Linked DNA regions of Homo sapiens: regions 1, 2, 4, 5 and 6 are each linked to region 3. Evidence: promoter capture Hi-C in 16 types of primary human blood cells and fetal thymus (Javierre and others, 2016). All regions are on one chromosome and are shown on one strand. Each heading gives the region's core, a stretch centred on a gene start or on the middle of the fragment in contact. The rest is flanking DNA. Distances are from core to core; before and after follow the strand shown.

What was found. The method cuts DNA at HindIII sites, captures the fragments that hold promoters and counts their contacts. A CHiCAGO score of 5 or more calls a contact.
Region 1: a fragment that was not itself captured here is called in contact with the fragment with the promoter of CEACAM18 in region 3 in 2 of 17 cell types (monocytes and M0 macrophages); the score reaches 7.1 in monocytes.
Region 2: a fragment that was not itself captured here is called in contact with the fragment with the promoter of CEACAM18 in region 3 in 5 of 17 cell types (naive CD4 T cells, naive B cells, naive CD8 T cells and 2 more); the score reaches 6.9 in naive CD4 T cells.
Region 4: a contact is called between a fragment that was not itself captured here and the fragment with the promoter of CEACAM18 in region 3, in 4 of 17 cell types (monocytes, M2 macrophages, M0 macrophages and 1 more). The highest score is 17.6, in monocytes.
Region 5: the fragment with the promoter of SIGLEC9 here is called in contact with the fragment with the promoter of CEACAM18 in region 3 in 4 of 17 cell types (neutrophils, naive CD8 T cells, total CD8 T cells and 1 more); the score reaches 9.8 in neutrophils.
Region 6: the fragment with the promoter of SIGLEC7 here is called in contact with the fragment with the promoter of CEACAM18 in region 3 in 11 of 17 cell types (fetal thymus, total B cells, neutrophils and 8 more); the score reaches 15.5 in fetal thymus.

What each region holds. Positions count from the first base shown.
Region 1 is chr19:51,846,206-51,849,620 of GRCh38, forward strand. It overlaps a transcript of ZNF577 not described here. Among named protein-coding and RNA genes, the nearest start is that of ZNF577, 40 kb to the right of the region's middle. RefSeq lists an enhancer at 1,117-2,316. The HindIII fragment of the contact is 513 bases long and covers 1,635-2,147 here.
Region 2 is chr19:51,751,861-51,754,992 of GRCh38, forward strand. It overlaps FPR1 (formyl peptide receptor 1), which reads right to left and starts at 18. Exons shown (of 2, transcript NM_002029.4): 1 at 1-18. The HindIII fragment of the contact is 324 bases long and covers 1,089-1,412 here.
Region 3 is chr19:51,477,289-51,480,694 of GRCh38, forward strand. CEACAM18 (CEA cell adhesion molecule 18) reads left to right here and starts at 1,251. Exons shown (of 6, transcript NM_001405061.1): 1 at 1,251-1,406; 2 at 3,045-3,392. The coding sequence starts at 1,355. The HindIII fragment of the contact is 9,749 bases long and covers 1-3,406 here.
Region 4 is chr19:51,827,330-51,830,665 of GRCh38, forward strand. It overlaps a transcript of ZNF577 not described here. Among named protein-coding and RNA genes, the nearest start is that of FPR3, 34 kb to the left of the region's middle. The HindIII fragment of the contact is 6,940 bases long and covers 1-3,336 here.
Region 5 is chr19:51,123,402-51,126,990 of GRCh38, forward strand. SIGLEC9 (sialic acid binding Ig like lectin 9) reads left to right here and starts at 1,505. Exons shown (of 7, transcript NM_014441.3): 1 at 1,505-1,994; 2 at 2,196-2,474; 3 at 2,680-2,727. The coding sequence starts at 1,574. The HindIII fragment of the contact is 17,590 bases long and covers 1-3,589 here.
Region 6 is chr19:51,140,562-51,143,990 of GRCh38, forward strand. SIGLEC7 (sialic acid binding Ig like lectin 7) reads left to right here and starts at 1,740. Exons shown (of 7, transcript NM_014385.4): 1 at 1,740-2,241. The coding sequence starts at 1,809. The HindIII fragment of the contact is 9,764 bases long and covers 1-3,429 here.

The DNA of each region.
Region 1 (3,415 bases), core at 641-3,140, 370 kb after region 3:
AAAACAAATAAATTTTTATTTGAGACCAGCCTGTATAACACAGTGAGTTCTTGTCTCTATAAGAAATAAAAGGTATACATTTGCATAATAATAGCTACCTTTTGTCAAGTATCTATTAATACGTATTTGCAGATGAGTCACTGGAAGGTAACTAGGGTTAGATGAGGTCATGAGGGTGGGCCTTCAATATGGAATTAGTGACCTTAAAAGAAGAGATATTGGCTGGGTGCCATGGCTAATACCTGTAATGCCAACTCTTTGGGAGGCCGAGGCCGGTGGATCACTTGAGGCCAGGAGTTTGAGACCAGCCTGGCCAATATAGCAAAACCGTGTCTCTACTAAAAATACAGAAAATTAGCCAGGTGTGGTGCAAACGCCTGTAATCACTGCTACTTGGGAGGCTAAGGAATGAGAATCACTTGAACCCGGGAGGCAGAGGTTGCAGTGAGCCGAGATCGCGCCACTGCACTCCAGCCTGGGCCACAGAGCGAGACTCCATCTCAAAAAAAAAACAAGAAGAGAATTTGCATTCTCCCCCTACTGCCATATGAAAACAGATGGCCATCTGCAAACCAGAAAAAGATCTCTCACCAAAACTCATCCCACACTGGCACTGTGATCACGGACTTCCAGCTTCCAGAACTATAAGAAAACAAGTTTCTCTTGTTTAAGCCACTCAGTCTATGGTATTTTGTTATGGCAGCCCAAGCTGACTAATACATTACATGCCAGCACTTTGTCAGGGACTTCAAATGCACTACCTCACTCAATCCTCAAAACCCATCTGCAAGGTAGATATTTTCAATTTGTCATAATGGAAAAACTGAGACTTACAGAAGTTGGGTATCTTGCCCAAAGTCACACAAAATAGGGTAGAATTGACATAAAAAGCTAGTACTAATTTCAAGTGTATACAAACACTCGTGTACGCACACACATGCACACACATAGCATTTATGACACGATTTTGACAACTCATGAATTTTGGTTGTACAGGTTATCATATTGCTATTCTTTCGAGTTTTCTATATACTTGAAATTCTTCGACATAAGATATTGGGAAATATAATACCTCAATGTAAAATACAGCACCCAAATGTCTGTACAGCTGAGGCCTCCTTATGTTCCAGCCCCACCAGCCTCTCCCGTCGATGTCCGTGTTGCTCTCCACCCAAGCATCTTGCTGTTGCCTCACTCACACCTCCCCAGACACCTACTTTCAAGTGGAGCATAAAACGGACCCTCCAAATACTCAAACTTGGACCCCTGAAACCTCAGATCACTAACCGCCAATCCCTGTCCTCGCCGACCACATCCTGACGGCCCCCTCCATCGGTGGCTCTCCCAGGCCTCTCTCTCTGTGGCAGGGAGCACGATGAGGAGAGGATATTTCACGAGAAACGAGAGAATGGTCTCTAGTTTCTTCCTCAATCCACAGCTCTAAACACTGATGCCGGCCCTAAAAGCCCTCAACAACCCCGAAGCGGCCTTAAACGGCAACCCCAGATGGTACTCATCAGAAACCAATCCCAAGTCACGGAATTCCCACAGCGCTGCGGGATTCCTAAGGGCTTTAGGCAGAGTCAAATGTAATCTCACACAGGAGTCCCGTGAATTTACTCCCTGGAAGGCAAAGCTTCCATACGTCATTTCCTCTTCTGCTCACTGGGCTGGATGGCCAGGCTTTCCAGCTATTATACAAACTCAGTAGCACTTTGGAAGGCCAGGATCCATCTACAGACGCGGATCCCGGTCCCACCAGGAATGATCGCTCAGCAATATGGTCGCGCCCAAGCCCTGACATGCTGTTGGAAGCCACCATCTTGGAAGACGCAGTACAGACTGCGAGACAGCCATTCTAGGCGACCGGATTCCGCTGACCAGGCCGAAAAGGAGTAAATCTAACTGATCCTTTCTAATCTTCTAAAGACCTCTCATCCTGTACTTCCACCTTCTTTCCTGTCAGCGTAGGGCATGCTTAGTAGGATTTCGGCACTTTCAACTAGTCTTCCGACCTGACCAATCAGAACACACCGAAACAGAAAATGGCTGCGCCCACGCTGCCTCGTTCTTCTAAACCACACGAAAGGTGAGGCCGTATTGAAAAGCCTGGGTCCCTAGGGGAAAGAAGGGAGGGAGAATTAGGAAGCTTGTACAGCTAAGACGCGGAAGACGCTGGGAATATACCCAAAGGAAATGAAATCACTATGTGGAAGAGGTATCTGTACTCCCACATTTACTGAAGCATTATTCACAATACCCAAGATATGGAATCTTTCTCCATACGACTGAGAAAGATGGAGATTAGGAGACCTAGAACTGGATCTGGACGAACAGAGGTGGTATGGGAAGAGCTCTCTGGATGTGTGGTTTGTGGGGAGAGATGGTGAGGGCTTAAGAACTAATGTAAAGATGCCTGTGGAGCAGACACGGGCAACCACAATCCAGGCCACAAGAAAAGCATTTGTAGCTCACAGGGATCCTGTGTATCTTGAAGAGCACAACCCACCCAGACATTTGTCAATACTGTGATGCAGGAGTCAACTTCCTTTTTTCCCTGGCTAGATAATTATCCCAACAACATTATTTAAAGTTGATCTCTTCCCCAATTTGCTAATATTTTGTAAGGAGTTGTACATCTAAGTTCATGGGATATTTGGTCTGTAATTATCTTTTATTTTAATAATGCCTCTGTCTAGTTTTGGTGTCAAGATTATATTGCCTTTAGATAATGAGCTGGAAAAAAATCATCTTTTTGATGTATGTAGTTCTAAACCATTTTTTTGTTTTAATATTCCATTGTATGAATCTGTTTTCTGCACTGACACATTCAACACAATTGCCAAGCTGTTACCCCCTTTTAAAATATGTGCACATTTTCTGTCTCTTTTATTATATAAAAACTTGAACTATTTCCACAGTTTGGGGAAGGAAACTATACACAGGTCTTTCTGTGTCATTACCTACTCTTCTCCAATGGAGAAAGGGTAAGTTTAACAAAATAGGTTGCGCATACAAAACAGGTTGTGCATGGATGGTTTATAACACTTCCTTTTTCTATGTTCTTTGTGTTTGGGTTAACCTGTCTGCAGGATGAAGATTTGCTCTTCAGAATACATTTGCTATGTTCTGAATGTGTCCCCTAAAATTCATGTGTTGAGACCTTAATTCCCAGTGCAATGGTGTTGGGAAGTGAGGCTTAATGGAAGGCGTTTCGTTCATGAGAATTCTACTTTCATACCACTTGTAAAAGGACTTACAGGAGTAGGTTCACCCCCTTCTGCCTTTTGCCATGTGAGGACACAGCAAGAAATCTTCACCAGATGTCAGCACCTTGATCTTAGACTCCCTGCCCACTACAGAACTGTGAGCAACTACATTTCTGTTCTTCATAAATTATCCAGTCTCAAGCATT
Region 2 (3,132 bases), core at 1-2,500, 270 kb after region 3:
GGGTCTCCTGGGGAGAGTGACTCAGGCTCTAATGATTGCAGCAAAACATACACCAAGGAACAGGAGGAGGGGTAAAGGAACTAAAACCAGCTGGGTAGCAGGAAATAGGAAGTCTGAGCTTCTTCTGATTTTTGATGGCCCCAAGAATACACCAATATACTGTCTGCTTTAATGGCATTAGGACAGTGGGCTGGGCCTGTTTAGAAACTCATGTACCTGACTGTATTTCTCAGCCTCAGTCTCTGTGGGATGCAGAGGTTCAGTGCTCTCAACAACAAGGGCCAAGAAATCCAAGTGTCCGGGCCCCTGCTCCCTCCAAGGGTCAAGGTAAAGAAAGCAGCAAGCACTGTGGTGAGAAGAATCAGAGGGAGGCAATGAAAGGAAGAGAAGAAGTCATGAGGGATGGAGACCAGAAACACAGAGAGAGGTAAGGGAGTGGGGGAAGTTGAGACAGTTGGCAGGACAGCGCGTCCACACCCATGCACACCACCAAGATTAACCCCATAATCCTCTGATCTTGTGGAAGCTCATTTGTAGTCTTCTAGCCCAAAGAAATAACCGTTTTTCTGAAATGTTAAGCATCCTTCCAAGGGTATCAGAGTGATATGGAGAAATATGGTAAGACAGTTACAGAATCAGAGATAACGACACTGATTCTAAAAGCATTATTACCAAGGCATTGTTGCATTAAGACTGTTTTTTCTTTTCTTTTAGAGACAGTATCCTGCTACGTTGCCCAGGCATGTCTCAGACCCCTGGGTTTAGTGATCCTCCTGCCTCAGCCTCCCCAAATGCTGGGATTACAGGCATGAGCCGGGCTGTTTTTAATTCTAAGTAATTTATAATTTACAATTACACCTAACAATGGCTTCAACAAGGGGTGTCCAATCTTTTGCCTTCCCTGGGCCACACTGGAAGAAGAAGAATTGTCTTGGGCCACACATAAAATACACTAACACTAACGATACCTGATGAGCTAAAAAAAAAAAAAAAAAAAAAAATCCCCCAAAAATCTGATAATGTTTTAAGAAAGTTTATGAATTTGTGTTGGGCTGCATTCAAAGCCATCTTAGGCCATGGGCTGGACAAGCTTAGCTTAGAACCAAGACGAAATTTATGGTTTACTTTACAAGAATTTTGCAAGAGGGTAATACTAGGTTAGGTTATATCTGGAAAATATCATCAAGAACTACATTCATTTTAATCTTTTCTCTTTTTTATCCCTAATATGGTGACTTTTTTTCCTGGGGATTGCCACTTCATGGCTCCAAGAAAGCTACCACAGCTCCTGACTTCACATTACAGCAGGGGTCCCCAACCTCCAGGCCATAGACCAATACACAGACCGATACCGGTCTGTGGCCTGTTAGGAAGTGGGCTGCACAGCAGGTGACTGGCAGGTGAGCAAGAGAAGCTTCATCTGTATTTATAGCCACTCCCCATTGCTGGCATTACTGCCTGAGCTCTGCCTCCTGTCAGATTAGTGGCGGCATTAGATTCTCATAACAGTGTGAACCCTACTGTGAACTGTGCATGCCAGGGATCTGGGTTGTGTGCTCCTTATGAGAATCTAATGCCTGATGATCTGTCACTGTCTCCCATCACTCCCAGATGGGACTGTCTAGTTGCGGGAAAGCAAGCTCAGGGCTCCCACGGATTCTACATCATTGTGAGTTGTATAATTATTTCATTGTGTATTACAATGTAATAATAATAATAGAAATAAAGTCTACAATAAATGCAATGTGCTTAAATCATCCTGAAACCATCTACCCCGCCACCCCATGGAGAAATTGTTTTTTATGAAACTGGTCCCTGGTGCCAAAAATGTTGGGGACTGCTACACTCCAGCATCCCACACCAGGAGGATGGGGATGAGATGGAGAATCACTGAAGATCTTTAATCAGAAGGGTGATATGTTCATTTGTACTTTATAAACATTTGTGTTTGTATTTTATAAACATTTTCTTGGGATCATAACAACAGATGCATTTTAGAAGATTCCCAAGGTATGAAGGGTAACAAATGAAGACGTGCCTAGGAGTCACATGGAAGCCAACACTTTGTAAGGGGATTAAAATAAAGGGAATGGCAGAGGACATCATTATGCACAGAGGAGAAGGGCCCAAATGTCAAGAGAAAACAAGAGACAAGGGACTCCACAGAGAGTAATTGCCAGAAAAATTTGTAGGTCTTTTGAAGTCTGACTGTTCTTCCTAAAACGGGGGTCCTGGGACACCCCTACCTGTTTCCCATGAGCCCTCTTTTCTAAAACATAAGTAGGTTTTCTTCCTGGCTACCAAATGGCCTGTGATTAGCACACTAGGTTGGGCAAAAATAGAGCCAAGTGTGTGTTCCAAAGTGACTATGGTGAAGAAAAAAGCGAAAGTCTTAAAATGGACTTCCACTTCTGTGTTTGCGTAAGGCTAAAAGGGAAGATGTCTTAGGGTTGACCGGAATGGGAGTATTCCTGCCTATGCTGCAAAAGTCCCTGACTCTTCTGGTAACTGAAACATGAGAAATGGCCTCGGCGAGCAGCACAGCCTCCCAGTAAAGCACTGGACTGAGGTGGTAAAGCCAGATTGCCTGGACTAGAATCCCAGGACTACTGTTCACTAGCTCCGGACAAGCCAGCTAATCCAGGGGTCTCAAACATTTCCCCCAACTTTTTTTTTTTGAGACAGAGTCTCACTGTGTCACCCAGGCTGGAGTACGGTGGTGTGATCTTGGCTCACTGCAGTTTTGCCTCCTAGGTTCAAGTGATTCCCCTGCCTCAGCCTCTCCAGTAGCTGGGATTACAGGTGCCCGCCACCACGCCTGGCTAATTTTTGTATTTTTTAAGTAGAGATATGGTTTTGCCACGTTGACCAGGCTGGTCTTGAACTCCTGACCTCAAACAATCACTTGCCTTGGCCTCCCAAAGTGCTGGGATTACAGGACGGAACCACTGCACTGGGCCACAAACATTTCCTATGAAGAGCCAGATGGTCAATATATTTCATTTGGCAGGCCATAGGGTCTCCATCACAACTCCTTGGCTCTGCTGTTGTAGCCTGAAAACAGCCACAAGCAAAGTTGTAAATGAGGAGCATGACTGTATGTCAATAAAACTTTATTTAAAACACGACAAT
Region 3 (3,406 bases), core at 1-2,500:
ATCCCTGTTTTTAGAAACAGCCTGACCCTCCAACAACAAAGTGTCAACCTAAATAACAAACAGAGAGAAGCTCTCTAAAAGAAAATGATATGTATTCAGGAATGGGGCATTGCAATGGGAATCTGGGTGCTATAGTAAACTACGTGCATATTCAGGGAGGTAAAAGAACACAAAGGGTTTTCAATGGAAAAATGAGGAGGACCCCATAAATGGTTTGAGATAATTACCCTAGGCTACAAGGATCCCTAATGAGGGTGACGTCAGTCCAAGTTTGGACCGGAGGTTGCTGTCCAAATACTTGTCACAGAAGTATTTTTTTGGTGGAAGGAAGCAATGGCTTTTGTGCAAGACTATGGTTTCTGCAGCGTCTTCTGTGAAAATTTTTGTTGTCAGAGAGCCCTCGCTTCACAGCCTTCCCCACTGTATTTCTCAGGGATTTTTTTGGCTTGTGAGCACTTTCACAAAGGGATCTGGTTATACACACACTGGTTCAGGTCTAGAAGAGCATTCCCTGCAGCCATTCACAATGGTCATGGGAGGAATATTTAGTGACATAGAGAAATAGTCCACTGTTGAGGAGGAAAGCAGCCAGTTGTAAAACAGCCCCAGGCAGTCTAAAAGTTGGGCCCTACACCGGGCACGGTGGCTCACACCTGTAATCTCAGCACTTTGGGAGGCCGAGGTGGGCGGATAACGAGGTCAAGAGATCAAGACCATCCTGGCCAGCATGATGTAACCCCGTCTCTACTAAAAACACAAAAATTAGCTGGGTGTGGTGGCACGAGCCTGTAGTCCCAGCTACTCGGGAGGCTGAGGCAGGTGAATCACTTGGACCCGGAAGACGAGGTTGCGGTGAGCCAAGATCATGCCATTGCACTCCAGCCTGGTGACAGAGCGAGACTCCGTGAAAAAAAAAAAAAAAAAAAAAAAGCTGGGCCCTGCATAGGAAAACCAAACCAAATGGAAACAGGACATACAGTTGAGGAGTTTGATGTCCTATCTTTGAGGCACTTGGCTGTATTTTCTGGTTTTCTTTGTTTTCCCAACAGTGAGCCTGTGTTTTTCCGTTTTTTCATGACCAGAGAAAAAAATGTAAATTATTATAAAAATAAGTAAATAAATAATGAACTAAAGGCAACATAAAGCCATAAAGATAAGGTTGGGCTCTCAAGAGCCGTCTTCCCCAGGCCCCACCCCTGCTGGTCAGAGTGCACCCTGGGGAGGAAAGGCCGCCCTGAAGGCTGGGAGACGAGACCGGCAGCCTCTGTGCCAGGAGACACAGGTCTTGGAGGGAGCAGAGGAGGTGGCTGTGTCTCTGGAGGGACCCCTCCTCCTGGAGGACCCCAGGCAGCTCATGGACCTTTCCAGACCCAGATGGAGCCTGTGGAGGAGGGTCTTCCTCATGGGTAAGAGATGCTGGATGCTGGATGAGCTTCCCAGGACTGAGGGAAGGGCAGCTAGGAGCAAAGCGGCGGGGAGGGGGCTGGGACCATCCCCATCCACGGGCACATCAAGAAACTCCCAGAGCAGGGGTCGGGGAGAGGAGAAGGGGGAGGACCCTCAGCACAACTTTCATGAGCTCACACACGTGGGCACACTTTGCCCCTAGACACACCCCTGCACAGACCCACACATGTGGTGTTACACACACACGCACACGCACATGCACACACACACACGCGCGCACACACAGAGAGAGAGAGAGAGAAACTGTGTTTCTATCTACGCCCAGGAATCAGGAGCTTGGACCTTCACCCTCACCTCCCTGCACTCACCTCCCACTGGGTGCCCCAATCTGCCCCATCCCCTCCCCCACCTCTCAGGCCAGATTCCTTCCCAGCCCCTCACCTTTGCCCAGGACCTTCTGTGCCCCCTACAAGCACAACTGTCCTGCTTTACCACGTGTACTGTCCTTGAACAGGTCCAGTGTGTCCATACGTGAGGCCTAGAGCCGGGGTCTCAGGCATCTCTGCCTCCTCCACATAGCCCAGGCTTGGGGTTCACAGGGCAGTGGACAACTGCCCATGTCATATGTGGTAACAGGCTGCCGCCTCCATTCACACCCACTCCAGTGAATTTAGATGCAAAATCAAAGACATGTAGAAATTCTCGGGGGAGTATTTCTCACCCAGACAATCATTACTGAACTCCCCCTGTGTCCAGCCTGTGCTCAGGGGCGCTGGGGACTCAGTGGTGACTGAGACAGGGCAGTCCTGCCCTCCTGGAGCCCACAGTCCAGGGCGAGATATAGATATGTGCCCAGACTCTGAGGACCCCCAGAGGTCATGGCTGGGATGGGGGGAGCCCAGGAGGAGCTGGGGGAGCCCAGAGGGGACACCTGACCCAGGCTGGGGTGGAGGAGACATCCAAGCTGAGACCTGAGTGATGAATAGAAGTGAGTCAGCAAGGAGGGTGCAGATGGAGAGGAGGGAGAAGGAGTCCCTGCCGGGAATGGGGAACAGCGTGTGCGAAGCCTGGAGTTAGGAGAAGGTGTGGTGCACCAAGAGAGCTATGTAGAGGCCTGGGGCATACAGCGTGGCAGTCATGTCTTCTGATAAATAACTACAGGAATAAATGAGTAAAAGGTGCATAGTGGGGACAGGATGGGGTAGGTGTGCACCACAAGGAGGCTCGATGAGTCACAAACACCAGCTCTGGCTGAGAGTGTTTCATATACCCACCTAAGAGTTTGGACTGTATCCTAAGAGCACTGGGGAGCCATGGAAGGTGTTTGAGCAGAGGAGAACAGGGTCGCAACTTGGGCTTATTAACATTTACGTAACTGTGATGTGAGGATGGATTGGAGGCTGTGTGGCTAGCGAGGAGGGCCTGGGAGAAGATAAGGGTAAAATGGACCACGGCAGGGGCTGAGGGGAGGCACAGGAGGGGACAAGCTGGGGACTCTACCAGGAGCCAGAAACTCTTGCCTGGTTCACCAGCGTCTCTGGGAATCGTTCCCGGATGGTGTCTTTTTTCCTTGTCTTCTCAGCCAGTCTGAATCTCTTTGTGAATTTCTCTCTGTCTTTTTTCCTTGTCTTCTTCAGCCAGTCTGCTGGCCTGTGGGATCTGCCAGGCCTCTGGCCAAATCTTCATCACCCAAACCCTGGGGATCAAGGGATATCGGACTGTCGTGGCCCTGGATAAGGTCCCTGAGGATGTTCAGGAATACAGCTGGTACTGGGGTGCAAACGACAGCGCAGGAAACATGATTATCAGCCACAAACCGCCCAGTGCCCAGCAGCCTGGGCCCATGTACACTGGCAGGGAGAGAGTGAACAGAGAAGGCAGCCTGTTGATCAGGCCGACTGCATTAAATGACACGGGAAACTACACTGTTCGGGTGGTTGCAGGCAATGAGACCCAAAGAGCAACCGGCTGGCTGGAGGTTCTAGGTGGGTTAGCAGGT
Region 4 (3,336 bases), core at 279-2,778, 350 kb after region 3:
AAAATTTTTGCAAATGTGGTTTCACTTATTGGCATGAGACAGTATAATAACTGTATGGTACTTGATATGTTTCTTTCAAGTAATGAGAATGTAAGCTATCTGAGGGCAGGTATTTTGGTCTATATTGTTTGCTGATGGATCCCAATCCCCTGCAAATAAGATAGTGTCTGATATGTGATAGGCACTCAATAAATGTTTATGGCATTGATAAACAATAATATCACTTAATGTCCAGTCAAAATTATCTCCAGCCCTCATAATATGAATCAGGTCAGGTCTAGTAAATTCCCATCCTCATGTCCACAGTATTTGTAAATTCCCAGCTGGCTTACATTTTCATGAACATTTCTGATTTTGAGTTTCTGCTTAAGTAAACTACTCTGGTTAACCATTGCCTAAAGACTTCATATTTAAATAAATAACTCATAACTCAGCCCTTTACCTTGCTTTCTGCACATAAACACTCAGAAATTGTCAATTCTGTATTGTGAACATACTTTCCTGATGCACTGGCAAAAGACACCACTCAACATGAATATCAGGCAATCCTGTTATCAGTGTTCTCACTCACCCCACTGCTTTACTCATTTTCTTCTCCTTTTCCCTTCTGTCTCTCCTAAAGTTATTGCATTTCCAAGGCAGAGCACTTTGCGCATTTCATTTGCACGTTTGACTCCTATAAATGCTTTAGAGTTCCCAGGAGGTGTATATTCTTAAATGCCCAGCCAAGGTGTAGCCATAGAAAATAAGGAACAAGGCTGGGCATGATGGCTGACTCCAGTAATCCCAGCACTTTGGGAGGCCGAGGTGAGTGGATCATTTGAGGTCAAGAGTTCTAGACCAGCCTGGCCAACATGTTGAAACGCTGTCTGTACTAAAAATACAAAAATTATCTGGGCATGGTGGTGTGCACCTATAATCCCAGCTACTTGGAAGACTGAGGAAGGAGAATTGTTTGAACCTGGGAGGTGAAGGTTGCAATGAGCTGAGAATGTGCCACTGCACTCTAGCCTGGGAGACAGAGAAAGATTCCATCTCAAAAAAAAAAAAAGGAGAAGAAAAAGAAAAAGAAAATAAAAAGGCACAAGGACAAAACCTAGATAGGAGAGCCAGGGCTTCCAGATGGGCTAATTAAGAGACTTCCTCCACTGCCAGGACAGGGGATTCTTACTATTCCTTCCCACTGGCCTTGGTTAATTGCAGTAGAACAGTGCCTGCTACATCCTCTCCATTTTTCTTTTCCTCTTTAGGAGTTTTCATTGTGGAGTCTCAATTCCCATTGCATTATGATATATTGTGGGTTCAGGAAACTGAGATTTTTTTTTTAAAGTTATGGGACAGTTACCACAAAGAAATACTTCCCAATGTATGTCCATGTGGATGGCTCACTAACTTCCTGTATCAGGCCTGGTCGGTCTGGGACAGCACTACTGCTTGCTGGTTTTAGATTTTTTGTTGCTTTGTGCAACTTAGTACTGCTGTTGTCAGGTGTTGCCTTGGGGACTCTCCAGAAACTCTGGTGAATATAGACAGCTCTCTGAGCCTTCAGGCTCCCCTGCAGCTCCTGGAGGGCAGGTTTCATTGTAATGAGGATGTTTCGCTATGAACAGTAGTCACTCTTTCTCTAATCAGGCCCCTGGTGACAGGCCACTACTTGAGGGCACGTTGTCCCTTGAGCTATATATGCTGCTCTTGTTACATGGGGTCTTGGTAGTAGTCTGGCCTGTACTGGGTATAAGTTGCAAAGTCCTGGTCTCCAGCCAGAGTGAGCTGGCCAGTATGGTGAAACTCTATGTCCATCTCTGCCAGGGTCCAACCTGGCCGAATGACAGATGAAAAATGCACTCTGAGACTGATATCCAGTGAAAAAGCAGGCTAGGGGACTGGGCAGCTCACAGACACCGAGGAGGGAGCTGTAAAGAGTCAGTAGCCACAGCCCCGACAAGCTGGCACTGTGGGCATTTATTCAGTACAGATTTAATGACAAAGGCCTGGAGTCAACACGTCTTGTGGGTAATTAACATTGTCACCCCCCACCCCCCAAGACAGCAGTCCTGTGCACAGATGATTAAATACCAGGTTCCGAGGCCTAAGTAAACTAACTTATCTAGATCAATTCCTTTACACTTCCTTGTTATCCATTCTGAGAAAATTCAGCTGCCTTCAGCCAAATCCTCTTCTGAAGCTATGCAAATCCCAGGCCTTCCAAGAAGGTTTGCATCCTTTTCCTATAATTTATCTTACAACTTTTCCCACCATCCTGACCGATCTCCTACACATCTCACTGATGAGAGAGCCACAGGATACCAGGCTCCTGGGTAGCAGCAATTCCCTCATAGTGAAGTCAGAAAAGATGATAAAATGCTGGGCTTCAGTGTGTTGATAAAGGAGAGCCAGGATGAAAGGATCAAGTCACCTAAGCCTAACCTGTAATATGGCAACTGCACAAGTCCCCTTGGCAATTTTCAAGAGCAAGTGCTGCTGAGGCCAGTGCCTCCTTGGTTGCTGCATTCCTTCCTGCTATCACTCCTTGTCCCCACTAGCCACTCAGAGGTCAAGTGGGGCACCTTCAAAAGGGAAACAACTGCCCACAAGGCCAGTGCAAATGGAGCTCACCCCCAGATGTTTTTAGTAACAATTTGTAAAGTCAAAACAACAGGGTGCCAAACCCAAGGTCATCTAGATTTTCTCCTGTTATCTTCTAGGAGTTTTATAATTTTGTCTTTTACATTTAGGTCTGTGATCCATTTTGAGTCCTATTTATCTGGTGGAAACCTGACTGACATAGCATATGCTTCTAGTGTTTAAAAAAAAAAAAAAAAACAGAGGAAAGATGAAGCATTAACTAATATAAATTAGTAGAAATTGAGTGGAAGAAATGAAAATAGTCTCTCTGTCTACTTTATCATGCCATTTTCTTTTTGTGTTTTTGCCATCAGCATATACATCTGTTCTCTAATCTACTAACTGAAAACATAAAAACCTTTTGTACCACACGCGTCCTCCTGAACTTTACAACAAATTTCTCTGCTCTCCTTGACAGCAAACTCAAGGGTCACTTCCAGTTTCTTTCTCTACTTCCTCATTTCACATTTTCTCCAGAACTCATTCTAAATGGGTTCATGTCCTGATTACTGCAGTGGGACTACTCTTATCAAGGACAACAGTGACATCCATTGCCATGTTACTGCACTGCAGGTTCAGACATTTGGTGCTTGCCTATGAATCCAATGGAGTAAATCTAAGTCATATATGCTTATCTGATAATGATGGGAATCTTAGGCCCCTAAGCATATATGACTCAGTTGTCCACACCCTTTTATTTTAAAATATATA
Region 5 (3,589 bases), core at 255-2,754, 350 kb before region 3:
GACAGAACTCAGATGTGGACACCCAGCCCTGCAGAACAGATGCAGGACAACACTGTCAGCCATGGCTCAGCCCTTCTGACCATTGCAGTTGAGATGCTGCAACTTCCCAGGGAGCGACTGGGCAAACATGGGGGCCTGAGGTATTCACGGCAACGTGCACAGATGATAAAACTACCTAGAAAAGCATGGAGACCATTAGCGTTAAAGTGAGGCTGGGGCTGCTTCAGGAGGAAGTGGGGTGTGGCTGACAGGAAGTGGGGTAACAAAGAGGAGGTGTTGCGGCATCCCCAGTGTTCTGTTTCTCTAAGCATGTTCATATGTGTAAACCGCTGAGATTTTTTCTTGGGGGGAAGACATTTTTATCTATATGGCTTATATTTCTCCCAAAAATATTTCTAGAAAACTGACATCGGTCTAAGGAGGCTCCACCACACAGGATACTCCCAGTTCCTCCCAGCCCAGCCACACAGTTACAAAAAATCTTCTGCTGAATTCAGGTGCATGTTTCTTCTCCCATGAAATCCTGCCCATCGCGGAGGGTGCATGCCCCGGGGCTGGTGTCCTCACTCCACATCTCCTGTTCACCGGGACCCCTGGGAGCAGAGCTTGCAGAAGCAAAGCCCCAGGGCCAGCTGATCCCTCATGTTCTGGAGTAACCAGGGAAGTGTGGCTGAGCGAGACATCGGTGGTGAAGAAACCCTTCGTGGTGCAGTGAGGAAAGGAGAAATATCTTCCCTTTTGAAATCTGCCCCTTTTCTTCCGAATTTCCTCCCTTCCAAGCCCCACAGTACAACAGTCACAGCCTCAGTTTCCCAGACCTCCTGCGAGCCAGGCTCCCCTCTGTGTCCTTGGCGTGTATCAACACATAGAATCCTCACCTCCACAGCCCCATGTCCCTCTGCTCAGTCCTCCTGAGATTGAACCCCTGACCTACGGGAGAGTGACCCCATCCTGCCTGTGCCCCCCAACTGAAGCTCCTGCCGTGGACAGCTCAGACGTCAGGAGCCTCCATGTCTCCCCTCCGCACAGTGACCCCTTGGGGACAGTGTCCAGCTCTGCTGTGTTGACCTCGTTGTGCAGAAAGGGGGTGCCCACCTCGTGCTTGCTTGGGGGGGATGAGAGGCTGCCTGCTCACCCCACCTGCACCCCCATCTCTCATGGCCCCAAGTCCCACCTCTGAGCTACGCAGATATCCACAGCCTCTGACTCAGGGGTCTGGCCAGATGGGACTCATTTTCACCCTGCAGAAAATGTCACCTAAGGGGAAGGGCATTGAGAGGGAGGCAGGAGGTGGGGTGGGCCCTGCATGGGGTGGGAATCTGGGTGAGTCTGTCTCCCGCTCTGGCCTCAGGGACCCAGGAGTGAACATGGGGTGGTGGACGGTGGATCTCCCAGGGCTGACCCGGGCCTGACAGTGTCTGGGTGTAAAGTTCCTCCTCTGAGGAGGTCACTGTTCCGACCTCGCCCCTGTCTTCCTGTAGGGCCTCCTCTAAGTCTTGAGCCCGCAGTTCCTGAGAGAAGAACCCTGAGGAACAGACGTTCCCTCGCGGCCCTGGCACCTCTAACCCCAGACATGCTGCTGCTGCTGCTGCCCCTGCTCTGGGGGAGGGAGAGGGCGGAAGGACAGACAAGTAAACTGCTGACGATGCAGAGTTCCGTGACGGTGCAGGAAGGCCTGTGTGTCCATGTGCCCTGCTCCTTCTCCTACCCCTCGCATGGCTGGATTTACCCTGGCCCAGTAGTTCATGGCTACTGGTTCCGGGAAGGGGCCAATACAGACCAGGATGCTCCAGTGGCCACAAACAACCCAGCTCGGGCAGTGTGGGAGGAGACTCGGGACCGATTCCACCTCCTTGGGGACCCACATACCAAGAATTGCACCCTGAGCATCAGAGATGCCAGAAGAAGTGATGCGGGGAGATACTTCTTTCGTATGGAGAAAGGAAGTATAAAATGGAATTATAAACATCACCGGCTCTCTGTGAATGTGACAGGTAAGGCACAGGCTCCAGGAAAGGCCACAGGGAAAGGTCATGGGGGCGGCAGGGAAAGGCTGGGATGGAGCCCCTGCCCCAGGAGAGGGCTTAGGGTGAAGCGAGTTGGCTCAGGGCAGGAGCTGGACCAGAGCCTGAGCTCCCCCCAGGGCTGCACCATGGATCCTCTGACCTGATCCTGAGTCCCCCTCTCTTCACCAGCCTTGACCCACAGGCCCAACATCCTCATCCCAGGCACCCTGGAGTCCGGCTGCCCCCAGAATCTGACCTGCTCTGTGCCCTGGGCCTGTGAGCAGGGGACACCCCCTATGATCTCCTGGATAGGGACCTCCGTGTCCCCCCTGGACCCCTCCACCACCCGCTCCTCGGTGCTCACCCTCATCCCACAGCCCCAGGACCATGGCACCAGCCTCACCTGTCAGGTGACCTTCCCTGGGGCCAGCGTGACCACGAACAAGACCGTCCATCTCAACGTGTCCTGTGAGTGCTGGGCCGGGACGCCTGGGTCCCTGATGGGGTGAGCGTCAAGCCTGGACACTGGGTGCTGGGTCCCGGAATCTGGGCTGGTGGTGGGGTCAGGAGGACACTGGCTCTGCCTTCCCTGTTTATGCGGCTCCTGGGGACAGACAGGGCCAGTGTCCCCAGCCCTCACAGTGATGCGGGTCTCCATGTCTTTCTGTCCCAGACCCGCCTCAGAACTTGACCATGACTGTCTTCCAAGGAGACGGCACAGGTAGGATGGAGCTCCCTCCCTGGGGCTGGAGGAGCAGGGCCTTCAGGTCAGGATGGGGCTGGCTTATTCCTCAACCTGGACTCACTTTGGCAAACAGGGATGTCCTTGTGGGTGAACTCAGGGCCCCTCTGTATCCTTAGGCCCCAAGGCCACTTGTTCCCATCCTCCCATCACCTCCCTTGGACTCCCCCACACACCCCCCCCTCAGCCTCAAACAAGAAGAGGGTGGCATTCACACAGCAGGACCAGGCTTTGAGGCTCCTTCTCATGTATCTCCTGAATACATCTCCACCCTTATCTGTTTATTTCTGATAGTTCTGATCTAAGTACTTCTGGACAGGTGATAAATGTCCATGGGCAAAAATTCAAATTGCAGAGCAAAGGCTCTCCTCCGATGCCTGCCCCCCTCCCCAGAACCAACCACTGTCCATCCAGGCTGCCCTGAGTCTCGGTTTGTACACCTGGAGGATCTCAGAGGTGGTTTGACGTCCGTAGTGAGACTGTCCGCACCCTCCTCTAGGGCTGTGTGTGAGTCCACTGCATGGATGGACTCTGATTTTGTGGCATCTCCTAATGGAAGATCACGGCACTAATTTCATCCTACGGCAGGATAGAACAATCTTGTATCTACTTCCACAGGAATATCTAAGCCTGTGGGTTAAGTTCCTAAAAGCAAAATGTAGCTACATTATATGTTCTTTCTTATTTTGAAAGATAAGCCCAAACTGTTCTCGATGAAGCGGGGAGAAGTTTACATTCCCAGCAGTGAGTGGTGAAAGTGTGTGTTTCCAGAACTTCAGTCTATGTCTGTGTGTCAGTTGCTGTCATCAGTCTCTTTCTGTATCCTTCCTTTTTCTCCAGA
Region 6 (3,429 bases), core at 490-2,989, 340 kb before region 3:
CATCCGGTAACACTTCTGCCCACTGAGATACTGCAAATATCCTTATGGGGAGAGAGTGGCTGGGCAAGGAGGAGGCGCCCAGGAGGCAGATTGGTCTGCAGGATGAGATACTAGCTGCAAATGCAGGGATTGGAGGTGAGGGCGGGGAGTGGCTTCGGACGCCCAAACCCAGCATCTTCCTCTCTCAATCGTTACAGCCAAATGATCTCTAGGTTATGGACAATTAGGGGACAGTGTGGGCTGAGCAGATCAATGCAGTTGTATGGAAGAAAACAGACTGGGATTTTCTATGTATACAACATCTTCAGGAAAACCTACGTGAAGTTAGAATTTTCAAGGCAGCATGTGCCGATGATAAAACTACATAGAACAGCAGGAAGACTATTATCATTAAAGTGAGGCTAGGGGCTCCTTCAGGAGGGAGCGGGGGCATGGCCAATAGGAAAGGGGAATGTAAGGGTGAATGAATTAATAAAATCTCTTTCTTCATTTCAAGGGACAGACTTGACAGTTCTTTTGTGTTCTAGTTCTTCAAGGGTGCTTATTTTGTGTGAATCACTGAGTTGGTTTTTAGGGGACACTTTTATGTACATGTCTTGTGTTTCTCCCCGCTCAAAAAAAACTGTTTCAAGAAAAGCTGGCCTGGATCTAAGGGGGCTGCAGCTTGCAGGATTTTTCCCACTTCCTCCCAGCCCAGTCACACAGTTTAAAATAATCTTCTGTTGAAGTCAGGTGCGTGTTTCTTCTCTCAGAAAATCGCGCCCATCACTGAGGGTGGACGCCCCGGGGCTGGTGTCTTTGCTCCACGTCTCCTGTTCACCTGAACCCCTAGGAGCAGTTCCTGCAGGAGCAAAGCCCCAGGGCCAGCAGACCCCTCACACTCTGCACTAACCAGGCCTCATGAGATAGCAGTGGTGAAGGGAAATGTCCTTGTGCTCAGAGAGCTGTGAGGATGGGAATAGTGTCTGCTCTTTTCATATTGATCCTTTCCCTTATGACTTTCCTGTCTACCAAGCCCCACAATACAACAATCACAGCCTCAGCTTCCCCGGCCTCCTGCAGGCTGGGCTCCCCTCCGTGTCCTTGGCGTGTATCAACAGGCGCAATCCTCACCTTCACAGCCCCATGTCCGTCTGCTCGGTCCTCCTGAGACTGAACCCCCGACCTAGGGGAGAGTGACCCCACCCTGCCTGTGCCCCCCACTGAAGCTCCTGTCATGGGGAGCTCAAACGTCAGGAGACTCAGTGTCTCCCCACCACACAGTGACTCCTTGGGGACAGTGTCCGGCTCTGCTGTGTTGACCTCATTGTGCAGAAAGGGGGTGCCCACCTCGTGGCTGCTGAGGGAGGGATGAGAGGCTGCCTGTTCACCCCACCTGCACCCCTGTCTCTCATGGCCCCGAGTCCCACTTCTGAGCTACGCAGACATCCACAGCCTGTGACTCAGGGGTCTGGGCAGATGGGAGTTATTTTCACCCTGCAGAAAATATCACCTAAAGGGAAAGGCATTGAGAGGGAGGCAGGAGGTGGGGTGGGCCCTGCATGGGGTGGGAATCTGGGTGAGTCTGTCTCCCGCTCTGGCCTCAGGGACCCAGGAGTGAATGTCGGGTGGTGGACGGTGGATCTCCCAGGGCTGACCCAGCCCTGACAGTGTCTGTGTGTGAAGTTCTTCTTCTAAGGAGGTCACTGTTTTGACCTCACCACCGACTTCCTGTAGGGCCTCTTCTAAGTCTTGAGCCCGCAGTTCCTGAGAGAAGAACCCTGAGGAACAGACGTTCCCTCGCGGCCCTGGCACCTCCAACCCCAGATATGCTGCTGCTGCTGCTGCTGCCCCTGCTCTGGGGGAGGGAGAGGGTGGAAGGACAGAAGAGTAACCGGAAGGATTACTCGCTGACGATGCAGAGTTCCGTGACCGTGCAAGAGGGCATGTGTGTCCATGTGCGCTGCTCCTTCTCCTACCCAGTGGACAGCCAGACTGACTCTGACCCAGTTCATGGCTACTGGTTCCGGGCAGGGAATGATATAAGCTGGAAGGCTCCAGTGGCCACAAACAACCCAGCTTGGGCAGTGCAGGAGGAAACTCGGGACCGATTCCACCTCCTTGGGGACCCACAGACCAAAAATTGCACCCTGAGCATCAGAGATGCCAGAATGAGTGATGCGGGGAGATACTTCTTTCGTATGGAGAAAGGAAATATAAAATGGAATTATAAATATGACCAGCTCTCTGTGAACGTGACAGGTAAGGCACGGGCTCCAAGAGAGGCCAAAGGCAAATGTGATGAGGGCTTTAGGGCACGGCTGAGACGGGACACATGTCCTGGGAGGGGGCCGGGGGTGATGGACTCAGGAGAGGAGCTGGACCAGAGCCTGAGCTTCCCCAGGACCGCACCTTGGATGCCCCTCCTGATCCTGCAGGCCCCTCCCCTCACCAGCCCTGACCCACAGGCCTGACATCCTCATCCTGCCTCTGACGCTGGCATTGTGGCATGTGGGGCCTTATGACTCCTTGTTTTGGGGCCTGTCCTAGGCATGGCCGGGGTTTAGCACCATCCCAGGCCTCTCCCCACCAGATGCCAGAAGCACCCACTCCACCCATGCAGTGAGACAATAACAATTATCTCCACACATTGTTAAACGTCCTGGGGGGTTAAGTCCTCCCCAGTTGAGAGCCTTAGGTCTACACAACCCCGTGACTCTCTCAGGCCAGGCCAGGGAGGAAGCACTTCCTGGCGCAAACCAAGGGCAGCAGAGGCACCTGAGCCTGGACAGGGAGACTCAGCACACGGCCCCTCCATCTCTCATGCCCTGAGGTCCTCGGAGATCCACATTTAGATGCTCAAAAGACAGGAGGGACCTCCACGATGGTCCAGAGGCCGGGAGGGCAGGACCTACGTGTCTGGTGCAGGCCCTGGTGCTCCAGGGAAGCCCGGAGGTAGGAGGTGGGACACGGTCTCTTCTCCTCCCTGGGTGGGTCTCTAGGGTCTCTGAGCTTCAGGGTTTCCTTCACTCTGTGCAGAGGGAACCAGTTCCTATAGCATGTGGGTTTGTAGTTTCTCTTTCGTGCTGGGTTGAGGTCTCCAGCTCCTCTCCAGCCCCTCTCCAGCCCCCTGTGGGTCCCACAGCCCTGCCCCTCCTCTCCCTCCCACTTCTCTGCTCACACAAGGAGCCCAGGAACCCTCTGTCTCAGAGATGCTGCTGCCTCTCTTGTGGGCAAATGAAGAGAGGGACAGTCGGGGCTGGGCTGAGCCTCATTTCCCCACAGCGTCCCAGGCCCCACTGTCAAGATACAGGCTGGAGGTGCTGGAGTTGGTGATGGTGCAGGAGGGCTAGTGCGTCTCTGTGCCCTGCAGTGTCCTTTAACCCTATTACAACTGAACTGACTCTAGCCCTGTCCATGGATGCTGGTTTAAGAAAGGGATCAATATAC